Linked DNA regions of Homo sapiens: region 2 is linked to region 1. The links are contacts of gene promoters, found by promoter capture Hi-C in blood cells and fetal thymus (Javierre and others, 2016). All regions are on one chromosome and are shown on one strand. The core of a region is centred on a gene start or on the middle of the fragment in contact, and the rest is flanking DNA. Distances in the headings are between cores, read along the strand shown.

Region 1 (5,857 bases), core at 3,044-5,543:
ATTTTCAGCATCTACTTATTTGTTATACTTTGAAAGTGATGCTTCAGAAAACGTTAAAAAAAAAAAGATTTTGCCACTAGGGGAAAGAATTAATAGGGTATAGAAAACATAGATATCTTGCTAAATCTGGAGAGGTCAATGACACCAATTAAGCCATAAGTATTCATTTGTTATTCCTTCCTTAAATGATGAAGAGTGGAAGGAGTGGGGGAGTTTTCATGGATTATATAGTCTGTACTATTTTAATAATTGCTCTTACAGAGGACACATATCTTCTTAATGTGCCAAAACACTAGATCTGGTTTAAAAAGCAGCATGGCATACATAGTATCAATATAAATCAGGGTAACCAATGAAGTCTAGAGGATCCAGGTATTTTCTAAGAGAAGATGGTGTTCTTGGACAGGTAGTTTAAGAGACTAAACCTCCACCTCTACATTTTTGAAGCTTTAATGCATCATATTAGTAGTGAATAGTTAGCAGTGTTTGAAGGCTGAACCACATAACTCTCACTTGTCACTATCTCGCCTCAAGTAAATCACTGATAATAAATCTAAGTTTCCTCATCTGTAAATAGAAGGGGATGAATCGGGTCACTGCCAAGGCTTTTTCTAGCTCAGAGTATATTTCTACACAACCCTTTTAACCTACAATCAGAGTTTATATGTGGAGCATAGCCTAAACCTTTACCGATTCTTAGCAGTAACGAGAAATAAGGCACGCAAGTGAAAAATGAAAACAGTGACGTTAAAGATATCATACATTATTGGTGTCAAAGACACAATGAACAATAAACACAGATAGCACGGTTGTTAGCCCAGAAAACTGAGTCAGAAGATCAGTCAACTATGTGAATGACTTTGACAAATCCTCCTGATCACAAATCCAACAGTACAGAAGTCAAGTTCTAGGCTGGGTGCAGTGCCTCACGCCTGTAATCCCAACACTTTGGGAGGCAGAGGTGGGTGGATCACTTGAGGTCAGAAGTTTGAGACCAGCCTGGCCTGGCCAACATGGTGAAACTTTGTCTCTACTAAAAGTACAAAAATTAGCTGGCGTGATGGCACGCTCCTGTGGTCGCAGATACTTGGGAGGCTGAGGCAAGAGCATCACTTGAACCCAGGAGGCGGAGATTGCAGTGAGCCCAGATCATGCCACTGCACTCCAGCCTGGGCAACAGAGTGAAACTCCATCTCAAAAAAACAGAAAACAAAAAACAAAAAACAAAAACAAGCAAAAAACCATGACCCTCCAACCCCCCAACAAAGATTCAGGTTCTAGTACTCTGCCACTGTGCAGAACTCAAGGGTTTGGAGTCACAGACCACAGAGGTCAAATACAGTTCCAATGCTTACTAGCCTTGTAATCTTATGACTTAATTTCTCTGAGCTTCAGTTTCTGCCTCTGAAAAATGGGAGCACATCATCTTATGGCATCATTGTGAGTATTAAAAAGCATAGTTAGCACCTATGACAGGATCTACTGCATTGTAAGTATTAAATAAATGGGATTTTTGCCTACTTTTCTCCCCATGTGATGGAAATAATACTTTCCCTGGGTTCCTGTTAGTATATTAAGAAAATTCCAAGGCTGGAATTATGCAACATTAAAATTAGAAGGAACCAAGGGCTGTCAATTTTACCTCTAAATCTTTTCTCGAAATCTTCCATTTCTTAGCATTTCTCCTAGTATCAAGCTGGTATAGGCTACCATCATCTCTCATCCTATTACAATGACCTCCTTCAAACCAGCCCTCAAAATCTCTATCTCTTCACCCTCTCCTCACTCCATTCTTGCATAGCAACAAGACACATGCTTAAAACTCTCTCATGTGCACTTAGAATAAAATCCAAACTTTATCATAGCCTTCAAGACCTGACACGGGCTGACTTGCCCAAATTTATATTTGCCACTTTCCCTCTTGCTCACTTCCCAGTACAATGTCCTTCTTTCAGAATTTTAGTAGTTACCCTCCTTGCCTCTGGGCTTTCCCATGTGCCTCTGTCATTTTGTCTCAAGGCATTCTGTAGGTCTTCATAGAACTCATAACCACTGTAATTAAATAATGAGGTTCATAGTTAGTTGTTTAATGTCTGTCTCCTGGATCATGTTCACCATTGTATCCCCAATACTTGGGACAGTGCCTGACACAGGGCAGGTATTCAATAAATATCTATTGAAGAGTAAATGAAGAGACATCTTGCCCAAATGCTTCATTTGTAGATTAGAAAGCTACAGTTAGGATACGCTACAGTTAGGATACAAGTGACTTGCCTAAGGCTGGAGCACCAAGAGTTCTTTTTTCCCAGGCCAATATTCTTTTTTTTTTTTTTTTTTTTTTTGAGACAGAGTCTCGCTCTGTCGCCCAGGCCGGACTGCGGACTGCAGTGGCGCAATCTCGGCTCACTGCAAGCTCCGCTTCCCGGGTTCACGCCATTCTCCTGCCTCAGCCTCCCGAGTAGCTGGGACTACAGGCGCCCGCCACCGCGCCCGGCTAATTTTTTGTATTTTTAGTAGAGACGGGGTTTCACCTTGTTAGCCAGGATGGTCTCGATCTCCTGACCTCATGATCCACCTGCCTTGGCCTCCCAAAGTGCTGGGATTACAGGCGTGAGCCACCGCGCCCGGCCTTCCCAGGCCAATATTCTTTTGCTCCACTTAACTCTGAGGTCCCTTCTACCTTTAACGTTCTGTTATCTCTGAAAATACAATAAAGTGTGAAAATATCTTACAGATGGAAGATACCTCTTTTTCGTTTTGTACAATACATTTGGCTCTATTTCCCACTCCCCCACCGGGCACTTTTATTATCCTGTTTCTCTGCTTCCTCCTAAAGTTAAATTTAACATATTTACTGCATAATCTAGTAGGTGAAGCAGATAATTCCTGTAAACAAGGAATCATATCCAATAAGGTAAATGCAAAGGCAAGATGAATGAAGCACAGAGAAAGTACAGCATAGGCTGTACTTTTTTGTGCAGGGAGTAGTAACGAAAAAAATTGTTGTGCAGGGAGTAGTAAAAAAGGAATCACAGAGATGATTAACTTGAGATAGCTTTTGAAGGATGATAGGCGTTTGCCAGGTGAAGGAAACATTCCAAGCAAGGGAAACAGCACGTGTACAGAGGCACTGCATCCATTCAACACATACTGAGTGCCTACCAGCAACTCCAAGCTGCTTTCTCTACGTGGGAAAATGCATAGGTCACTGAACTCCACAAATGGTAGTTGGTACTGCCACAGAGAAGAGGAAGCTGCAAATGTAGTGGAAAGCAAGGGTTAGATCAGAGCACCTTGTACGCCACGCTCAAAGGCACGTACTTTGATCTATAGAGATGGAAATCCACGGAAGACTTTTGAGCAAAGAAGTGACAACCTCTGATTTACATCTGTTTTGAGTTTCCACTCAGTTTGGATCACGCCCCAGATTCAATAAGGAAGACAGAAAAAATGCCTCGAGAATCTGCATAGGCCAAACACAACACACCAAACAGTCACACATGCGAACATACTAGGTATTTACAACAACTTGCTGAGATGGTTGGGCAGAACTCACTACCGCACAGTTAAAGAGAAAGCTTGGAAATAGTTACGTGACAAACGTTGAGGTGCCCAGGCCCGGCGCCCCAGGGTTCCCGGACACCGCCCGAGGCCTCCCCACCCTCCGGCACACACCCGCTCACCTCTGCAAGTTCTCGATCTCAGCCGGGATGCTCTGCAGTTGGTTGCCGCCCAGGCTCAGGGTCTGCAGCGCGCGCAGCTCTAAGAGCGAGGCAGGCACCTCCTGGAAACAGTTGCCGCTGAGGTTGAGCACCTGGAGGCTGCGGCAGAGCGGCGACTGGGCCAGGCCCTTGGGCAGCGCACTGGGCCCGCCGAGCCGGTTGTTCTTGGCCAGCAGCGTGCGCAGGCCGCGCAGAGCGAGCAGCTCCGGCCCGAGCGCGGTCAACGCGTTGCCGCTCACGTCCAGCAGCTGGAGGTGCGGGAAGCCGCTGCCCAGCGCCCGTGGCAGCGACACCAGACGGTTGTGAGGCAGCAGCAGCCGCAGCAGCGCCTCCCGCGCCCCGCGCCGCTCCTCCCCCCGCGCCTCCAGCTCAGACTCCAGCGTCTCGGTGGACACGCTGAGGCGGGACCAGTTCAGTTCGGCCTCCCCGGCCGTGACCACCGCTGCTCCGGCCTCCTCCATCCTGGCCACCGCACGGCGCGTGGCGCCGGATTCCCCAGAGCGCCGCGCGCGGTCCAGAGGCCGGGAGCTCTGCGGCGCCCCGGAACCTGAACCGAGGGCTGAGTCGGAAGTGGCGCGGGCGGGCGCAAACCCTGCGCGCCTTGGCCGAGTCACGCGACGCGAGTCCTGGGGTGCGCGCGCCGCTCCGGGGCGGGCTCTGCCTCACGAGGCGCGGGGCGCGGAGTGGCAAGAGCGCAGCATGGGCTGCGCAGAACTGAGGCAGACACCCAGAGGCTGCCAAATTGTCATCTGAGCCGGACCGGGTTTCGGCGGCCGCGCTTTATAGTCGCTGGAGCCTGGTGACCTATTCCAGGGCTACAAGACTGCCTCGGCAAACAGCCCAAGGATGTTCGGTTATCTCGCCTTGAGGGTTCGCGCGTCACGTGCCCCCCCCGTCCCCCGCTTGTTTTTCAGTTTAAAAGTGGGGCCCGTGTCTGCAGGACTCTGTGAGCACACAGTAATTTAGTGGTGATTTAGCTCCATGACAGAAAACCGCAGGAATTTAAAGTCCGAGGATTAACAAAGCCGACCTCGAAATGTGAACGCAGCTGGACTAGACCTCAGAACCCCCGGACCCTTACTGGAGGTTCCGCTGTTAAATAGCCTAGGGCAGGGATTTGATTTCAGTTGCCCCATGCATAAAATATGGGTAACACCCGCACTACTTGCCCCACAGAATTATTTTTTTCTTTTTTAAGGCAGAAATGTGTATCAAGTAAGGACGTTTTGCCCGTTTTAATTGTAGAAGCACATACGTGGCTTTTGGTGTAAGTTGTGTCTAGGAGTGAATTTGGGAGATATGGAGGCGGTTGCATGATTTGAGATAGCTCAAATTAATGAGTTAGTTTAAAAACTCAAAGCATAGAGTTTGTACTGCAGGTCAAAACTACAGTTTGGGAAAATCCTGATCTGGTACTAATTTAGTAATTCTAATTAACGTATTTTTCATCCTTGTCCCAAACTCAATCTTTTCTGAAATTACATTTTATGATTTTGAAAAGTAATGAATAGAAATGAGAAAAAATGCTTAGCTTTTTTTTTTTTTAACAAAGCTTATACATAAGAAAGTTAAGTGGTCGTGTATAATCAACGACATTAAATTGCTTTCCTCCTTAAAAAAGGAAAGTCGTTTTTTTCTTGCCAGTCATTTATTTGTATGAGAAACTATGCCTTTACTCTGCAGTCAAACTTTAATTTCTGATTGAGTGGTAGTCCTAGAAGGACGTACTTTGTATGTTTAAGCTAATGGTGGAATGCTTTTTAAAACTGATGAGTCATCTGTTTTGAAAGAGTCCTTTTAAGAACAGACCTTATTTTGGGTCAAGCCAGCATTCTAACAGTAGTCCTAATATCTGAAAATAACAAATATTTAAAATAATAGTTGTTTTTGCTTTAAAATATTTATCTTGGATTTTAAAAAGTGATAGGAACGTAATGTAAAATGAGAAAAAGAAAGGATTCAAACATAATTCAGAAATAAGAGTTGGCCAGGTGCCATGGCTCATGCCTGTAATCCCAGTGCTTTGGCCCAGGCCAGCAGATCGCTGAGGTCAGGAGTTCCAGACCAGCCTGGCCAACATGGGGAAACCCCGTCTCTACAAAAAATACAAAAATTAGCCGGGCCTAGTGGCGCTC
Region 2 (5,367 bases), core at 2,868-5,367, 1.1 Mb before region 1:
TTCTTCACATTTCATGTGTCAGAGGCATCTTAAATCCTGGTTTGTCCCCCCCAAATCACTTCCATTTAGAAAACTTTGCAGTAGTGTGTGTGTGTGTCTTGAATATGTAACCAGAAATCTGATTTCCTGGGCAGTGGTTACAAAGCTGCAGCCTCTCTTTGCCCAGGGGTATCTTTACCCCAGAGTGGGAGGGGAGTGAGCTGAGGTGGGGGTGCACGAACGCTGCAGAGGAGGTTGGGATGGGAGTGGCCGGCGTGAAGCCACTGCCTGTCAGGTTTCTCCGCTGGAGTCCCCTGTTTGTCTCTGTCATTACTCTTTAAGTATTTGCGTAGCAGACAGGCGGGCACCGAAATAGAAAGTGTCAAAGATACGATGACAATGAGGATAAAACCAGGGCAGAGGGTTCTGAAAGTCCCAACCAGCACGGTCCCCGCAGAATGCCAGCGCACCTCCTCCCGCCACTTCAAAGAGCCGGCTCGGCGGGGCAGGAAGCGGCGGCTGCGGCTGCGGGTCCTGCGAGAAGAGCGCGATTTCCTCCGGGGCTGCCCAGTTATCTCTGGAGTCGCAGAACTGCTCTCGGGAGAACGCGTTCTCTACCCCAACCCCGTGCTCCTCAACCCACCCACCTACTTCCTCTAGCTCCACACACTCACAAGCACCGAGCTGCCAAAAATTTCCACCCACCGCCCCCCTCCCTAGCTAACTTCCTTCCAGCATTTCCTGAGCTGGATGATCCTAGGATTTGTAAGACAGGAAAAAAAGGAAGGCGTGAGGGCGGGCAGCAGCGACAGGATGCTTGTTTTTCGCTCTACCAAAGTCGTCTGAAGGCGAGACAGCGGGCCCAGGGCGCAGGACCCACCGCAGCCCCCTGGGCAGTCTCCTCGCCCCGCGTCCGCGTCGTCTCCGGGGCACTTAGTAAGGGGTGGGGAGAGCTTGCCCTCCCTCTTAAGCTGAGGAGAAACACCCGAAGACACCGCAGGAGCCTGTGAAAGTCCCTAGGACTCCAAGTGAGGAAGTGACACTCCCAGGCGAGCCGGCCCGCGGCTGCCAGTCTGCACGGCCTCGGCACGGCGGCCCCGGAGCGGCGCGGGGTGGATCTCAGGCTCTGCCGGCCCGCGGCCCGCGGGGTCCATGCGCAGGGCCCCCAGCCCAAGTTCTTCCATCTTCCGATGCGGCCCCCCAGAGCCGCGGGGCAGCCGGTGATCTAGCCCGGGAGCCCATCTTACAGCGGTGCCAAGCAGAGGGGCGGCAGAGACGGAGGGGCAGCCTCTTTGGGACTAACTCATGAAGAACAAGGGTGCTAAGCAGAAGCTGAAACGAAAGGGAGCCGCCAGCGCGTTTGGCTGTGACCTGACGGAGTATCTGGAAAGCTCGGGACAGGATGGTAATGTGCCTTGGCCTTTCTCCCCCGCCCCCACCTTCTTTTTGTTTGAGGGAGAGACGGACTCTCTCGAGTTGTGATAGAGTCGGTTCACAAGTTAATGTATTCCAGGCCTGTGCGCTCATTGCACTTTTTTTTCTTTTTTTTTTTTAAAGAACATAAACGATTCTTAAGGTGCACAGCGCTGCTGTCCCGACGCGCAGAGGCTGCTGTGTCAGTCCTTCCGTTTGCCTCACACAAGCTGTTAATGGGTGGTACTGCCGCAAGTTTACCGGGCCACCTCAGGGGATGGGGGTGGAAGCTGCAGAGGTCCCAATCCTAAACTTGGCACGTTGGAAGGGAGGGAGGAGGGGTGGACATGTGGGATGGTGATCAGTGGTCTTGCCTGGGTACAAAATCATGACCGCCTTAGCTGTCCCTCCTGGGCTCTCCAATTTCGTCTGCTCACATCTTTTTTTATTAATGTGTTAGAAGGCAGTTGCGGGTGGGGGGTGGGGGAGGATCCTGGCTGGGGGAGTGGTTGCACAAACATTTCTGAATTTCTGAGCTGATGCCAAATATATAGTACCTCCACCCCCTTTCCACAACCCCCTCCCCGCCCTGCAAGACCTTTTCCCTCCTCTTGGCTTTCAGATTAACATTTGGTGTGTCAGACAAGAAGAGTGTTGTAAAAAGGTCAGAGGGCCTCCATTTTTAAATAGTTTAGGGTAAGTAGAGAAAAGGAAAACTTCTCTGTTTTCAAGGTCAGATGGGGGTAGGGGGGAGTTGGGGATGGGGGAATCCAGCGGAGACAATTTAAACATTTGTTGGGGAAGGGGGAAAGAAAACACCATCTAGATTACAATAACAGCGTTTGAGCTTAGAAGTGTTTAATCATAGGAAAGTTGGAAAATTGAGCATTAAATGACTCCTTTTGTAAGGTTGACTGGTTTTGCACTTACCCTTGACAAAAAGGCCTTGTCTTCAGAAGCTTCAGCGAGAGGAAAATAGCCTACTATATAGGCCATGTGTTTATACATAGATAGATACAACAAAGGGGAAAACTAAGGGCTGTGTAACCGTGCGGAATAATTCTGCCTCCAGGAAAATAATCTCAAAACCTATTTGATTAGTCCATATCGAATATGCATTTCAAAAACAGTGCAATGCTTTTGTTTCACTTCTGTGTTTTGGGAGACTCAGCACCACCTAGTAATTTGCAGTGGTGTGATATTCCTGTGGTATTCTAGAGTTCAGTCTGCTGTGTCATTAGGACAAATAGCTTAGGATTTTAGAGCTTGGAGAACCACAGGTTTCAAAACTGACTCTTTTGAAATTGATGCATAACTTAACACTTCATTGAATCCTCACCAACCATCTGGAGAGGTAGATTTGAGATAAAAATCACTTGGTTTGAGTTTTTTTGAGTGTGAGAAAACTCCAAGTATGCCTCTTAACCACTATCGTCAGAAGTTTACAATGAAAGGTTCCTCTTCACCTATTTTTGCAGGGGCCTTCAAGTTAACCTCCAGGTACACTAGGAATGCTCCTGGGATGCCACCTTTCACCATGCGGGTGTTATTCTGGCCCCTCCCTCAAATCTGTGAGAGTTGCATAGGGGTGCTTGCCAGCCCTGTTCGTTCTTACAAACTAATAGATTATAGGATGAGCCAGAACCCCAGGGTTCTATGAAGATATGTCAAAGGCAGCTTTAGGCAGCTGTTCTTTCACCTGCTTTATATTTTGGGCTTCTGCATATGTTTCATTTAGACAAAAAAAAACAGAGACTACTGCTTAAAAGAATGGCAAACCAGTACCCCGGGTTCCCCACCCTGGGGAGGGGGAAAAGAAGCCCAGAGGGGTAAATTGGCCTGCCTGAGGTTGTACAGCTAATCATGAAGGATCGGAGGGCCCTCCCTGGCCTGTTAGGTTCCTCTGCCCTCCCTGGCTTCTGTGTCTAAGCCAACATTCTCTTCTAATGATATTTTCCCCCTAAATTGAAAGCAGACAGCCCTGCTACAGGATCAGCAAACTTTGAAGACTGAACATACCTGATGAGAGTTCAGCTTTGAAAGGAAACGCAACTGACCCACTTAATGATCCACACACTGTTATTGTGCTACACGGAAATTAGACATGCATAATATACTGCTTATGGAAATAAGAGTAATTAGAATTTATTTTTTCCCTCAGCTAAAACTAGTTGGATGGTTTTTTTCTGTGTATTTGTGATAGTGTAGCATCAATGAACAAAGTCAGTGCTAATGGTTTTCTCTAAAGTAATGTTGCTTCTTTGTGGACTCTCCCAAACATGTATTGATTCATAGACAAGGCCTGGACTCTGCTTCTGGGAGGAAAAGCTGAGCTGGGAACTGGCCCTCTGCCCACCACCTTGGAAGATCAGCCCAGAATGCTGAGGGTGACAAGTCAGTGTGGTAACTGGGAGCCAGGGGGCTGGAGAAGGGCTCCCTGGACTGACATCATGGTTACTGAACTTTGAAGGTCAAAGGTGGTGCAGTAGACCTGCATTGAGAGGAAAGATAGGTTCAGGTTTGGGAGTACAAGGGGAGAAGACCAAAGATTTAGGGAGGCAAAGAGAGCTCCTGTCTTTGGACAGGGAAGGAAAGCCTTGAGTTGGAGTGGAGGACAAAGCGGGGTGATGATGAGCTATGCTCAGGGCATCTGAACATGGGGACGCCACATGCTTGAGTGGGAACTTTGGAGAGACAAAGGCTGAAGACAGAATGAATGTCATATGCTTCTGTAATTTGCTGAGGCTCAGCCCTGCTACTTTCAGCTGGACAAACCTGACAAGGCTGGGTGTGTGGTTTACAAATAGGTGTTCAGCTTAGGGCAGACATTGCTCAGGGCCAGTTGTCAACCTTAATCTTTGGGAAGCTGATGAGAAACAGAAACCCTTTCCTTAGAAACACACACACACACACACACACACACACACACACACCGTGTATGCAATTTCTGCAGGTATCTACATAGATGCCAATTTCAGACCCTGCTGTGATCACCCCTCACTGGCTACACAGGGGGGCCTGATATCCAGGACCAATTTTCCCCCTTCTTTGACCACTTTTCTCTAACTTGGTAAGAAGGGAGCAATGAACACTCTTAGCCAGGTAAGAACACTCAAGAATGGCATGAAGTGGCTCCTGGCAGACTTGCCAAGAGCCTCTTGCACTTCCCCTCCAACACAGTGGCTGCTGCCCCCAACCCCCAGCTCTCCCCTGGGAACCAGCTAACTTTCTCTTCCTGTCTGGAATAAAGGGAGATCATCCCTTCCTTACTGCTGCTGCTGAAAATAGTATAGTTTTCTTTTTCTTTTCTTGACCACTGAATAAGAAGGCCCTTGCTTGCAGCTGTATAACGAAAACCACATCATGTTGCTGTCTGTGGTTGGGAGGTTGTGGGTGAAGCTCTGCGAGGTCATAATGTGCCCATGGTTGTTTCCTACCTCTCCTTCATATGCCAAGTGTTCTGGGTCTTCTATTAGAGCTTGGAGATGGTTGGGGCCAGGAGCCAAGAGACAAGTAAGAGAGAGTTATAGGGAAAATTATCTTCTTCCTCTGGGTTGGCTTTACTTTAATGGCTGAGGATTTTCTTGCTCCTCTGAGCAATCTTTGTTTATTTTACCCACTCCCTGGTAAAAAGTGATACCGAGCTTCCAAGCTGACAAAGAAAAGAAGGGGCGACGATTGTGCCAAAAAGGGCTGCAGCCACGTGCAGCCTGTTCGCTGCACCATCTGCGCCCAATGCCTGCCCAAGGACAAGGCTATTAAGAAGTTCCTCATCCAAAACACAGTAGAGGCCACCGCTGTCAGGGACATTTCTGAAGCAAGCGTCTTCACCGCCTATATACTTCCGAAGTTGTATGTAAAGCTACATTATTGTGTGAGTTGTGCCATTCACAGCAAGGTAGTCAGGAATTGATCTCGTGAAGCCTGCAAGGACCAAACACTCCCACCCTGATTTACATGTGCAGGTGTTGCCCT

Evidence for each region. Contacts are between HindIII fragments. The CHiCAGO score rates a contact against its expected background, and 5 or more counts as called.
Region 2: a fragment that was not itself captured here is called in contact with the fragment with the promoter of LRRC58 in region 1 in 1 of 17 cell types (fetal thymus); the score reaches 5.7 in fetal thymus.

What each region holds. Positions count from the first base shown.
Region 1 is chr3:120,345,061-120,350,917 of GRCh38, forward strand. LRRC58 (leucine rich repeat containing 58) reads right to left here and starts at 4,294. Exons shown (of 4, transcript NM_001099678.2): 1 at 3,684-4,294. The coding sequence starts at 4,183. It also overlaps the pseudogene BTNL12P. RefSeq lists an enhancer at 3,560-3,609 and a silencer at 3,960-4,289. The HindIII fragment of the contact is 1,696 bases long and covers 3,577-5,272 here.
Region 2 is chr3:119,293,621-119,298,987 of GRCh38, forward strand. ARHGAP31 (Rho GTPase activating protein 31) reads left to right here and starts at 763. Exons shown (of 12, transcript NM_020754.4): 1 at 763-1,384. The coding sequence starts at 1,285. It also overlaps the pseudogene RPS26P21. RefSeq lists enhancers at 186-235, 4,095-4,164 and a silencer at 1,076-1,195. The HindIII fragment of the contact is 3,536 bases long and covers 2,350-5,367 here.